3 separate regions of the Homo sapiens genome follow, and all the other regions are linked to region 1. Evidence: promoter capture Hi-C in 16 types of primary human blood cells and fetal thymus (Javierre and others, 2016). All regions are on one chromosome and are shown on one strand. Each heading gives the region's core, a stretch centred on a gene start or on the middle of the fragment in contact. The rest is flanking DNA. Distances are from core to core; before and after follow the strand shown.

Region 1 (4,341 bases), core at 603-3,102:
TTCATAAATTAATCCCTCTTAGGTGGCTGGTGTCACTTCCCAGAAGCATGATAACTGTGGCACAAATAGAACCAGAATGGCCAGGTGTGGTGGTGCATGACTGCAGTCCCAGATTCCTGGGAAGCTGATGTGGGAGGATTGCTTGAATCCATGAGTTCTGGGCTGTAGTGTGCTATGCCAGTTGGGTGTCTGCACTAAGCTCAGCATCAATATGGTGGCCTCCTTGGAGCAAATCACCAGGTTGCCTAAGGAGGGCTAAACGGGTCCAGGTTGGAAATGGAGCAGGTCAAAACTCCTATGCTGATTAGTAGTGGGACCATGCCTGTGAATAGCTACTGCACTCAAGCCTGGGCAATAAGCAAGACCCTGTCTTGGAAAAAAAAATATACCCGGAATGCAGTATTTCTAGATTTATAGAACACCATCATGGTTTTGATAATAACTGGTGAAGCCCAGCCTGGGAAGCAAGATAACTAGCCTCATTCTTTCTAAAAACACTTCTTTGCTGCATTAATAACCAACAGAGGAATTCAACTCCTTGGAACCTTCCTTCCAGGATGCATACAGGTGATGGTGTAGTGATACCTGTGAATTGCAACATGACTTTTTCAGTCTCAGTACTGTATCTAGTTCATGGTATAATCTTGGGAATGTTAAGGATGCAACTGGGAGCTTCACTAAGTCCTCTGGATTCCCTGGCTACCACTAAGCATACTAAGACATAGCCTAATTGTCCCAAAGAATTAACAGAGTTGGGTTTCAATCAAACCTGTCACCATTGTTTTAAATTATGGGCTCTAATAGAGCTGGCATTGGAACTTGAAAAGAAACTCATGTAATTATATTCTTCTAATGATATAGCAAATGAATTTTTGCTTTTAGAAAAAATATTGGGTAGTGAAGAGCCACATTCTTTTTTATCCACCTAAACTGATTACACACACTTAGCAATGGAACAAAAAATTAAAGGTATAACAGGTACCAACTTCATACAAAATGCACACACACAGAGGATATATAAATGTGTGTACACATACACATATGTTCCTTGGCCCCTGTCTGCTGTTGATAAATCAAAATCTAGATAATAGTGTGGTTTTGTCTTGAACATTTCTATCTGAATGAAAACAACACAGTGTAGGAGTTCCTTGCCCTCGCTTTGAATGCTTAGGACAATGCAAATTGGGGTTTCCCAGCATATTGCAACCGAATCCTCTTCAGGCCCTGTCAGCTGTGCTCCAGACAATGCCATCCCCAAAGACAGAATTGCTATGGTTCATAACAGTGAAACCCACAGGACAAGTGTCCAAGAGTTTCACTCCTTTCTTTTGTGGAAACAGCCTCCACCCTCAGGCAAAGAGGAAACCCAGGGTTGGCCTTGACTAACAGCTTGCATAGGTATGGTGGAGCCAGGGTGTTTCAGTAAGGGTGGTGTGGTCATTTGCCTCTGCATTTATAGTAAAAGAAAACTGATAATGGAGTCCCAAGAGACAGCAGTCAGGGAAAATATGAAACATCAAGTCCAAGAGAATGAGCAAAAAGCAAAGCCAAACTTTCTGGTGGAGGAAGCAGTAGGGTGTGGGGTCGGGATTTTTTTCTAAGTGCACACCCCTGCAGCAGAGTAACCAGCCAGAGCTGGGGGAAAAATTAGGATAGCTACCTGTTAGGCATGTAGGGGTGTGTTTGCATGTTTAGTACGGCATAAATTCTTCAAAGACCTGATGGTCTTTAATATTCCAACCAACTCTCGTTTCCCCATTTTGTCATTAAATTAGCTTAAAGAGGAACTTGTAGCTTTTAGAGAACTCATGAGTTTTCCGCTTCATCATCTGCTTCTGTTTTCTCCATCTTAGTTTGCCCAAAGCTTGCTGGCCGCTGTGTAGGGCTGGTGAGTGGCTGGGGCTGTCTGAGCCATGAACAACTTCAGGGCCACCATCCTCTTCTGGGCAGCGGCAGCATGGGCTAAATCAGGCAAGCCTTCGGGAGAGATGGACGAAGTTGGAGTTCAAAAATGCAAGAATGCCTTGAAACTACCTGTCCTGGAAGTCCTACCTGGAGGGGGCTGGGACAATCTGCGGAATGTGGACATGGGACGAGTTATGGAATTGACTTACTCCAACTGCAGGACAACAGAGGATGGACAGTATATCATCCCTGATGAAATCTTCACCATTCCCCAGAAACAGAGCAACCTGGAGATGAACTCAGAAATCCTGGAATCCTGGGCAAATTACCAGAGTAGCACCTCCTACTCCATCAACACAGAACTCTCTCTTTTTTCCAAAGTCAATGGCAAGTTTTCCACTGAGTTCCAGAGGATGAAGACCCTCCAAGTGAAGGACCAAGCTATAACTACCCGAGTTCAGGTAAGAAACCTCGTCTACACAGTCAAAATCAACCCAACTTTAGAGCTAAGCTCAGGTTTTAGGAAGGAACTCCTTGACATCTCTGACCGTCTAGAGAACAACCAGACGAGGATGGCCACCTACCTGGCAGAACTCCTGGTGCTCAACTATGGCACCCACGTCACCACCAGTGTCGACGCTGGGGCTGCTCTTATTCAGGAGGACCACCTCAGGGCCTCCTTCCTCCAAGACAGCCAGAGCAGTCGTAGTGCCGTGACCGCCTCTGCTGGACTTGCCTTTCAAAACACCGTGAACTTCAAATTTGAGGAAAACTATACCTCGCAGAATGTCCTCACCAAGAGCTACCTCTCAAACCGAACCAACTCCAGGGTGCAGAGCATTGGAGGGGTTCCTTTTTACCCAGGCATCACCCTCCAGGCCTGGCAGCAGGGTATCACCAACCACCTGGTGGCCATCGACCGCTCTGGCCTGCCGCTGCATTTCTTCATCAACCCCAACATGCTACCTGACTTGCCAGGCCCCCTGGTGAAGAAGGTGTCAAAGACAGTGGAAACTGCTGTGAAGCGCTATTATACATTCAACACCTACCCTGGCTGCACAGATCTCAATTCTCCCAACTTCAATTTTCAGGCCAACACGGATGATGGCTCCTGCGAGGGGAAAATGACCAACTTCTCTTTCGGTGGGGTTTATCAGGAATGCACTCAGCTCTCAGGGAATAGGGATGTCCTCCTCTGCCAAAAGTTGGAGCAGAAGAATCCACTCACTGGTGATTTCTCCTGCCCCTCTGGCTACTCCCCGGTGCACCTGTTATCCCAGATCCACGAGGAGGGTTACAACCACCTGGAGTGTCATCGAAAGTGCACTCTCCTCGTCTTCTGCAAGACCGTGTGTGAAGATGTGTTCCAGGTGGCAAAAGCTGAATTTAGGGCTTTTTGGTGTGTGGCCAGCAGCCAAGTACCTGAAAACTCAGGACTGCTTTTTGGGGGCCTCTTCAGCAGCAAGAGCATAAACCCCATGACAAATGCACAGTCATGCCCAGCCGGCTACTTTCCACTGAGACTCTTTGAAAACCTCAAGGTATGTGTTTCTCAGGACTATGAGTTGGGAAGCAGGTTTGCGGTCCCCTTTGGCGGGTTCTTTAGCTGCACAGTTGGGAACCCCCTGGTAGATCCTGCTATATCCAGAGATTTAGGGGCACCGTCTCTGAAAAAGTGCCCCGGGGGCTTCAGCCAGCACCCAGCCCTCATCAGCGATGGATGCCAAGTGTCCTATTGCGTCAAATCCGGGCTCTTCACAGGAGGGTCCCTGCCCCCTGCCAGGCTCCCACCTTTCACCCGGCCACCCCTCATGAGTCAGGCTGCCACCAATACTGTCATAGTGACCAATTCTGAGAATGCGAGATCCTGGATTAAAGACTCCCAGACCCACCAGTGGAGGCTGGGAGAACCGATAGAGCTGCGGAGGGCCATGAATGTCATCCATGGGGATGGTGGTGGTCTGTCAGGAGGGGCTGCAGCTGGGGTCACAGTGGGGGTCACCACCATTCTGGCTGTTGTTATCACCTTGGCCATCTACGGCACCCGGAAGTTCAAGAAGAAAGCATATCAGGCAATTGAGGAAAGGCAGAGTTTGGTTCCAGGCACTGCAGCAACTGGAGACACCACTTACCAAGAGCAGGGGCAGAGTCCAGCTTAAATCTCTCCCCGAAAATGGTTTCTCTCATCTCCAGTGTGGTCATTGCTGACCACTCTGTTTTCCTAAGCATTGAAATGGCAAGTGCAACCAAAAGTAGGTATATTCGTGACTTCTTGTTTAGGTCTCTGGGCCAGGAAATTCATACTGTTACATGGATAAGGTTGGGATTGGGGAGAGGGAACAGTTGGGACTAGAAGCAAAAGTGATTCTGGGACTAAAATAGGAAGCAGATGTCCTTTCCCAATGTGTGTTGCTGTCTTCACCTGAATGCATTTGT
Region 2 (4,341 bases), core at 888-3,387, 200 kb before region 1:
GCTTAATCCCGCTTAGTGTCTTGGGCTGAAAAATAAGGATTTCTTCTCTTCTTATTCAATCTGGAGAGAGAAGATAAAGAGCTAGTAAGGCAGGGAGGAAGGAGGTGAAACTGTTCATGCTTGGCAAGTGGGGGTGGCTGAATATTATTTATCTTTCCAAACTTTCCTGCACACTTTACTCACTTCTTCCTCTTTGACTCCCGATAAAACAAAAACTTCAGCCAAATTAAATTTAAAGCAGTTTAATTGAGCAATGAAAAATTCATGAATTGAGCTGCTTCTTGAACCAGAGTAGGCTCAGAGACTTCAGCACAGTTACGTGGTGGAAGAAGATTTATGAACAGAGAAAGGAAAGTGACCTACAGAAAACAAAAGTGAAATACAGAAACAACTGGATTGGTTACATATCAGCGTTTGCCTTATTTGAACACGGTTCGAACAGTTGGCTATACTTGATTGGCCAAAACTCGGTGATCAGCACAAGTGTAGGCTACGGTCTATTTACACCTCCACTCTTTATAGTTCACAATTTACAGAAAAACCTTTAGGATGAACCTAAAATCTGTAAGGAGGCAGCTTTATGCTAAAATTGATTTAACAATTCCCCCCTTTGGTTATCCTCTCAATTTTGAGAGATTAACTGAAACTTTAGTTGTTGATGTCACTACCACCATTGTAAAGATACTTATTTGGTATTGAAACCCACTGGGAAACAGTAAAAGAGTGGGTTTTATAAAGTAGGAACAAGGATTCAGTAGAAGGTTCCTCCTTATGCTGGAATGTCCTGTTTACATGAAAAAACCCCTTGTCTGTTGTAGGATCTAGGTGTTTCCTTAAAGTCTTAGTTTGATTATGTCACATTTAGCATGAGTGACTCCATTTTGGTTTGGTCTGGTTTCTTGGGGCCTACTGCATGAGCTCAGTCCAAAACAATGGCCTCCCATAATTTTGTTTAAAAATTCCCCTTTTTTGGTCAGGTTCTCATGTAGGTGAGAGTGTGACAAAACTTAGGGCCTTAGCTCCACTCTCAGTTACCGTCGTTTTTGGTTTCTGGTCTCAGCATGTCATTCATAGGTTACAGTGTCCTCATGGTCACACATTTCTGTCAGCTCTTATCATTCCAGTTGAAGAGACATTCCAGAGACGGCTGCATGCAAACCTTTAAAACTTTTGAGAGAACATAGCCCACCAAGAAGACTGCTATTATGACTATCAGGAGGATAATACCAAGATTTTGGATTATGCTTCTTACTCAGAGTCCCCATAAACCAAACTACCTGAAATCAAATAGATCAAAGAACTAGCTAGAGTTCACTCACTTAAGTAAGCAGTCTCTTCATTAACCCCCTACAACTGAATCTCTATAATCTACATTTGATGTATTTCACCATAGGCCACAAATGGCAGTGGCTGCACAGATATTTCTGTTTAGCCAGTAAGTAATCTAGAGCAATTCTATTATTTAGCATAACTTTCACAAGAGAATGTAAAGTCTGTTGTGTAATGATAGCCTTTACAGTAGAATCTTTTATAGAGCCTATCATGAGAGACACATTTCTAATCATTTCCTTTATCACTCCAAACCATGGGAAAGAGGACTTAACAATTGATGCCCTTCTAGAAGAGTGAAGGCCTCCTGGCAATGTTCTCTTTAAGCCATGATGTAGGTTAGGAGGAGTGAACCACTGTTCCCTTTCTGATTATGGGGCAATGTATGTACCATTAAAATTTCTCACCTACATTGGGGCCTTTATCTTTTATCTGTGTAAGGTTATCCATGTAAAAGACTGGCTGCAAAATCCTTCACAAATAAAAATATACCCCATGAGTGCACACAACAGACCCCCTTTTCACTTCTATTGTTCATGGAGGCATAAGCAAGGGAAAATATTCAAAAATAAGCATCATTATAGTACAGATGTCTTGATCCATGATCTCAGGAGAAGCTGTTCACATCAAGGATGCCATCTTCTTCTGAGGAGAAGCTTCCCAGTTAGCTTTACCTTAAGGGTTCCAATGCATGTGAGGTTCTAAGAGTGTGGAGGGGCCTTTCTCAGTTGTAAGATTATTAACCCAAAGTTCAAGGTTTCAAAGTTTGCTGCAATATGGATGGCAAGGGCAGTCTTTTTCTGATGTTTTCAGAAGATCCAATCTTCAGGTTCTAGATTGTGAAGGGGTTGATTGTCCCCAGTCAGTGAACCATAAAAATCTTTCTTTACCTGGTGAGAATATACTGTGACATCATAATATACTGTTATAACATCAGACCTCTTGCATGGGAAAGCTTTTATACAACTGGAAAACATGCATTGAAAATGATAATCAAATGAAGTCTCTCTATACATGTTTAAATGGCCCATTAGGTAGCCAAATGTACCTGAAGCTTTGATTATCTTCCCAGGAATATGGGTTTGACAAACCAAACATTGGTCATAAACTATTTTAGCAATTTAAAAGTCACCACACCAATATGTATTTAATTTGGGTTATTTTATCTTTTTCAGGATGAGTCATGGCATGCAGAACTCTTTTTTTTTATTATTATACTTTAAGTTTTAGGGTACATGTGCACAATGTGCATGTTAGTTACATATGTATACATGGGCCATGCTGGTGCGCTGCACCCACTAACTCGTCATCTAGCATTAGGTATATCTCCCAATGCTATCCCTCCCCTCTCCCCCCAGCCCACAACAGTCCACAGAGTGTGATGTTCCCCTTCCTGTGTCCATATGTTCTCATTGTTCAATTCCCACCTATGAGTGAGAATATGCGGTGTTTGGTTTTTTGTTCTTGCAATAGTTTACTGAGAATGATGATTTCCAATTTCATCCATGTCCCTACAAAGGACATGAACTCATCATTTTTTATGGCTGCATAGTATTCCATGGTGTATATGTGCCACATTTTCTTAATCCAGTCTGTCATTGTTGGACATTTGGGTTGGTTCCAAGTCTTTGCTTTTGTGAATAGTGCCACAATAAACATACGTGTGCATGTGTCTTTATAACAGCATGATTTATAGTCCTTTGGGTATATACCCAGTAATGGGATGGCTGGATCAAATGGTATTTCTAGTTCTAGATCCCTGAATAACCACCACACTGACTTCCACAATGGTTGAACTAGTTTACAGTCCCACCAACAGTGTAAAAGTGTTCCTATTTCTCCACATCCTCTCCAGCACCTGTTGTTTCCTGACTTTTTAATGATTGCCATTCTAACTGACGTGAGATGATATCTCATTGTGGTTTTGATTTGCATTTCTCTGATGGCCAGTGATGGTGAGCATTTTTTCATGTGTTTTTTGGCTGCATAAATGTCTTCTTTTGAGAGGTGTCTGTTCATGTCCTTTGCCCACTTTTTGATGGGGTTGTTTGTTTTTTCTTGTAAATTTGTTTGAGTTCATTGTATATTCTGGATATTAGCCCTTTGTCAGATGAGTAGGTTGCGAAAATTTTCTCCCATTTTGTAGGTTGCCTGTTCAGTCTGATGGTAGTTTCTTTTGCTGTGCAGAAGCTCTTTAGTTTAATTAGATCCCATTTATCAATTTTGTCTTTTGTTGCCATTGCTTTTGGTGTTTTAGACATGAAGTCCTTGCCCATGCCTATGTCCTGAATGGTAATGCCTAGGTTTTCTTCTAGGGTTTTTATGGTTTTAGGTCTAACGTTTAAGTCTTTAATCCATCTTGAATTGATTTTTGTATAAGGTGTAAGGAAGGGATCCAGTTTCAGCTTTCTACATATGGCTAGCTAGTTTTTCCAGCACCATTTATTAAATAGGGAATCCTTTCCCCATTGCTTGTCTTTCTCAGGTTTGTCAAAGATCAGATGGTTGTAGATATTTGGTGTTATTTCTGAAGGCTCTGTTCTGTTCCATTGATCAATATTTCTGTTTTGGTACCAGTACCATGCTGTTTTGGTGACTGTAGCCTTGTAGTATAGTTTGAAGTCAGGTAGTGTGATGCCTCCAGCTTTGTTCTTTTGGCTTAGGATTGACTTGGCGATGCGGGCTCTTTTTTGGTTCCATATGAACTTTAAAGTAGTTTTTTCCAATTCTGTGAAGAAAGTCATCGGTAGCTTGATGGGGATGGCATTGAATCTATAAATTACCTTGGGCAGTATGGCCATTTTCATGATATTGATTCTTCCAATCCATGAGCATGGAATGTTCTTCCATTTGTTTGTATCCTCTTTTATTTCATTGAGCAGTGGTTTGTAGTTCGCCTAGTTCTCCTTGCAGAGGTCCTTCACATCCCTTGTAAGTTGGATTCCTAGGTATTTGATTCTCTTTGAAGCAATTGTGAATGGGAATTCACTCATGATTTGGTTCTCTGTTTGT
Region 3 (4,341 bases), core at 913-3,412, 170 kb before region 1:
ATCCAGGAGCTGGTTTTTTGAAAAGGTCAACAAAATTGATAGACTGTTAGCAAAACTAATAAAGAAGAAAACAGAGAAGAATCAAACAGATGCAATAAAAAATGATAAAGGGGATATCACCACTGATCCCACAGAAATACAAACAAACATCAGAGAATAGTATAAACACCTCTATGCAAATAAACCAGAAAACCTAGAAGAAATGGATAAATTCCTGGACACATACAACCTCCCAAGACTAAACAAGGAAGGAGTTGAATCTCTGAATAGACCAATAACAGGCTCTGAAATTGAGGCAATAATTAATAGCTTACCAACCAAAAAAAGTACAGGACCAGATGGATTCACAGCCGAATTCTACCAGAGGTACAAGGAGGAGCTGGTACCATTCTTTCTGAAACTATTCCAATCAGTAGAAAAAGAGAGAATCCTCCCTAACTCATTTTACGAAGCCAGCATCATCATGATCCCAAAGCCTGGCATAGACACAATAAAAAAAGAGAATTTTAGACTGATATCCCTGATGAACATCGATGTAAAAATCCTCAATAAAATACTGGCAAACCGAATCCAGCAGCACATCAAAAAGCTTATCCACCATGATCAAGTGGACTTCATCCCTGGGGTGCAAAGCTGTTCAACATATGAAAATCAATAAACGTAACCCAGCATATAAAAAGAACCAATGACAAAAACCGTATGATTATCTCAATAGATGCAGAAATGGCCTTTGACAAAATTCAACAACCTTCATGCTAAAAACTCTCAATAAATTAGGTATTGATGGGATGTATCTCAAAATAATAAGAGCTATCTATGACAAACCCACAGCCAATATCATACTGAATGGGCAAAAACTGGAAGCATTCCCTTTGAAAACTGGCACAAGACAGGGATGCCCTCTCTCACCACTCCTATTCAACATAGTGTTGGAAGTTCTGGCCAGGGCAATCAGGCAGGAGAAGGAAATAAAGGGTATTCAATTAGGAAAAGAGGAAGTCAAACTGTCCCTGTTTGCAGATGACATAATTGTATATCTAGAAAACCACATCGTCTCAGCCCAAAATCTCCTTAAGCTGATAGGTAATTTCAGCAAAGTCTCAGGATACAAAACCAATGTGCAAAAATCACAAGCATTCTTATACACCAATAACAGACAAACAGACAGCCAAATCATGATTGAACTCCCATTCACAATTGCTTCAAAGAGAGTAAAATACCTAGGAATCCAACTTACAAGGGACATGAAGGACCTCTTCAAGGAGAACTACAAACCACTACTCAATGAAATAAAAGAGGATACAAACAAATGGAAGAACTTTCCATGCTCATGGGTAGGAAGAATCAATATTGTGAAAATGGCCATACTGCCCAAGGTAATTTATAGATTCAATGCCATCCCCATCAAGCTACCAATGACTTTCTTCACAGAATTGGAAAAAACTACTTTAAAGTTCATATGGAACCAAAAAAGAGCCCACATCGCCAAGTCAATCCTAAGCCAAAAGAACAAAGCTGGAGGCATCACACTACCTGACTTCAAACTATACTACAGGGCTACAATAAACAAAACAGCATGGTACTGGTACCAAAACAGAGATATAGACCAATGGAACAGAACAGAGCCCTCAGAAATAATGCCACATATCTACTACCATCTGATCTTTGACAAAGCTGACAAAAACAAGAACTGGGGAAAGGATTCCCTATTTAATAAATGGTGCTGGGAAAACTGGCTAGCCATATGTAGAAAGCTGAAACTGGATCCCTTCCTTACACCTTATACAAAAATTAATTCAAGATGGATTAAAGACTTAAATGTGAGACCTGAAACCATAAAAACCCTACAAGAAAACCTAGCCAATACCATTCAGGACATAGGCATGGGCAAGGACTTCATGACTGAAACACCAAAAGGAATGGCAACAAAAGCCAAAATTGACAAATGGGATCTAATTAAACTAAAGAGCTTCTGCACAGCAAAAGAAACTACCATCAGAGTCAATAGCAACCTACAGAATGGGAGAAAATTTTGCAATCTACTCATCTGACAAAGGGCTAATATCCAGAATCTACAATGAACTCAAACAAATTTATAAGAAAAAACAAACAACCCCATCAAAAAGTGGGTGAAGTATATGAACAGACACTTCTCAAAAGAAGACATTTATGCAGCCAAAAGACACATGAAAAAATGCCCATTATCACTGGCCATAGAGAAATGCAAATCAAAACCACAATGAGATACCATCTCACACCAGTTAGAATGGCAATCATTAAAAAGTCAGGAAACCACAGGTGCCGGAGAGGATGTGGAGAAATAGGAACAATTTTACATTGTTGGTAGGACTGTAAACTAGTTCAACCATTGTGGAAGTCAGTGTGGCGATTCCTCAGGGATCTAGAACTAGAAATACCATTTGACCCAGTAAACCCATTACTGGGTATATACCCAAAGGATTATAAATCCTGCTGCTGTAAAGACACATGCACATGTATGTTTATTGTGGCACTATTCACAATAGCAAAGACTTGGAAACAACCCAAATGTCCAACAATGATAGACGGGATTAAGAAAATGTGGCACATATACACCATTGATTACTATGCAGCCATAAAAAATGATGAGTTCATGTCCTTTGTAGGGACATGGATGAAGCTGGAAACCATCATTCTCAGCAAACTATCACAAGGACAAAAAATCAAACACTGCATGTTCTTACTCATAGGTGGGAATTGAACAATGAGAACACATGGACACAGGAAGGGGAACATCACACACCGGGACCTGTTGTGGGGTGGGGGGAGGGGGGAGGGATAGCATTAGGAGATATACCTAATGTTGAATGACAAGTTAATGGGTGCAGCACACCAACATGGCACATGTATACATATGTAACAAACCTGCACATTGTGCACTTGTACCCTAAAACTTCAAGTATAATAAAAAACCACACCCTCAAAAAACCACAATAATTCTCCAGCAATAAGTGCTGAACACAAATAAATTCTAAAATTTCCAGATAAAAATTCAAAATATTGATTTTAAAGAAGCTCAATGAACTTCAAGAGAAATCTGAAAATCAATACAAAGAAATCAGAAAATCATTTTAAGATATGAATGAGTAATTTACCAAGGAGATAGATATCTTAAAAAAAAACAGTAATTCTAGAACTGAAAATTTTATTGCAAGAATTACAAAATACATTTGAAGCCTTCAAGAATAGACTAGATTAAGCACAAGGAAGAATCAGAACTTGAAGATAGGTTTTAAAAATATAATACAGTCAGATAAAAATAAAATAGAATAAACAAAGCCTTCAAGACTTTTAAGACTATCTAAAATGACCTAAATAATAAATTATTGGTATTCCTGAGGAAAAAAGGTTAAGAAATTTATTAATGAAATAATGTATAAAAACCTCCCAAGTGTATCAAGAAATTCAGACATCTGAATAAAAGAAGCTCAGTGATCCCCAGAAAATTACAATGCCTAAATGAGTTTGCCATAGCATATTATTAGACTATCTAAAATCATATGAATGAACAAATTCTAAAATTGGCAAGAGAAAAACATCTAGTCATCTACAAAGGAAACTACTTCAGAATAACAGCAGACTTATCAGCAGAAACTTTGCTGGTAAGAAGGTAGTGAAATGACGTATTCCAAGTGTTGAAAGAAAAAAAGCAAACTAGTAGCCAAGAATTCTGTATACAGCAAGAATTAAGCTTTAGGAGAAATACTCTTTTCCAGATAAGCAAATGCTGATAGAATTTGCCACGACTAGATTGGAAATAGAAGAAATGATCAAAGGATTCCTAAACTTGAAAGTGAAAGAATGGTATTCACCATCATGAAAACACACAAACATAAAACTCATTGTTAATGCAATAATACAAAAGGGGAAGTGAAAGGAACACAATGACACCACTACAGAATTCCACAAAACCAAAAATGAACAATGAGAAAAACAGAGAAAAGAGAATGTATAAAATAACTAGACAACAATTAATAATATGACAGGAACAAAACCTCACCTATCAATACTAACCTTGAACATAAAAGAATTAAACACTGCTTTTAAAAGGTATACATTGGTAAGATGGGTTAAAAAACATGACTTAACCATAAGCTGTCTACAACAAACTCATCTTATCTGTAAAGGCACATACAGACTGAAAGTAAAGCAGTGGAAAAAGGTATTTCACACAAATGGAAACCAAGAGCAAGCAGAATTAGCTATAATTAGATAAAACAGGCTTTAAATTAAAAACAATAAAAGGATAAAGAAGATGATCATATAATGATAAAGGAAACAACTCAGCAAGAGAAAATAACA

Evidence for each region. Contacts are between HindIII fragments. The CHiCAGO score rates a contact against its expected background, and 5 or more counts as called.
Region 2: a contact is called between a fragment that was not itself captured here and the fragment with the promoter of MPEG1 in region 1, in 2 of 17 cell types (total B cells and naive B cells). The highest score is 5.6, in total B cells.
Region 3: a fragment that was not itself captured here is called in contact with the fragment with the promoter of MPEG1 in region 1 in 2 of 17 cell types (naive B cells and total B cells); the score reaches 9.1 in naive B cells.

Annotation. Positions count from the first base shown.
Region 1 is chr11:59,210,438-59,214,778 of GRCh38, reverse strand. It overlaps MPEG1 (macrophage expressed 1), which reads left to right and starts at 1,852. Exons shown (of 1, transcript NM_001039396.2): 1 at 1,852-4,341. The coding sequence starts at 1,914. The coding sequence ends at 4,064. It also overlaps the pseudogene RN7SL42P. RefSeq lists an enhancer at 1,676-1,875. The HindIII fragment of the contact is 5,135 bases long and covers 1-1,866 here.
Region 2 is chr11:59,406,230-59,410,570 of GRCh38, reverse strand. No RefSeq gene overlaps it. Among named protein-coding and RNA genes, the nearest start is that of OR5A2, 18 kb to the left of the region's middle. The HindIII fragment of the contact is 299 bases long and covers 1,988-2,286 here.
Region 3 is chr11:59,380,265-59,384,605 of GRCh38, reverse strand. No RefSeq gene overlaps it. Among named protein-coding and RNA genes, the nearest start is that of OR5AN1, 24 kb to the right of the region's middle. The HindIII fragment of the contact is 3,141 bases long and covers 592-3,732 here.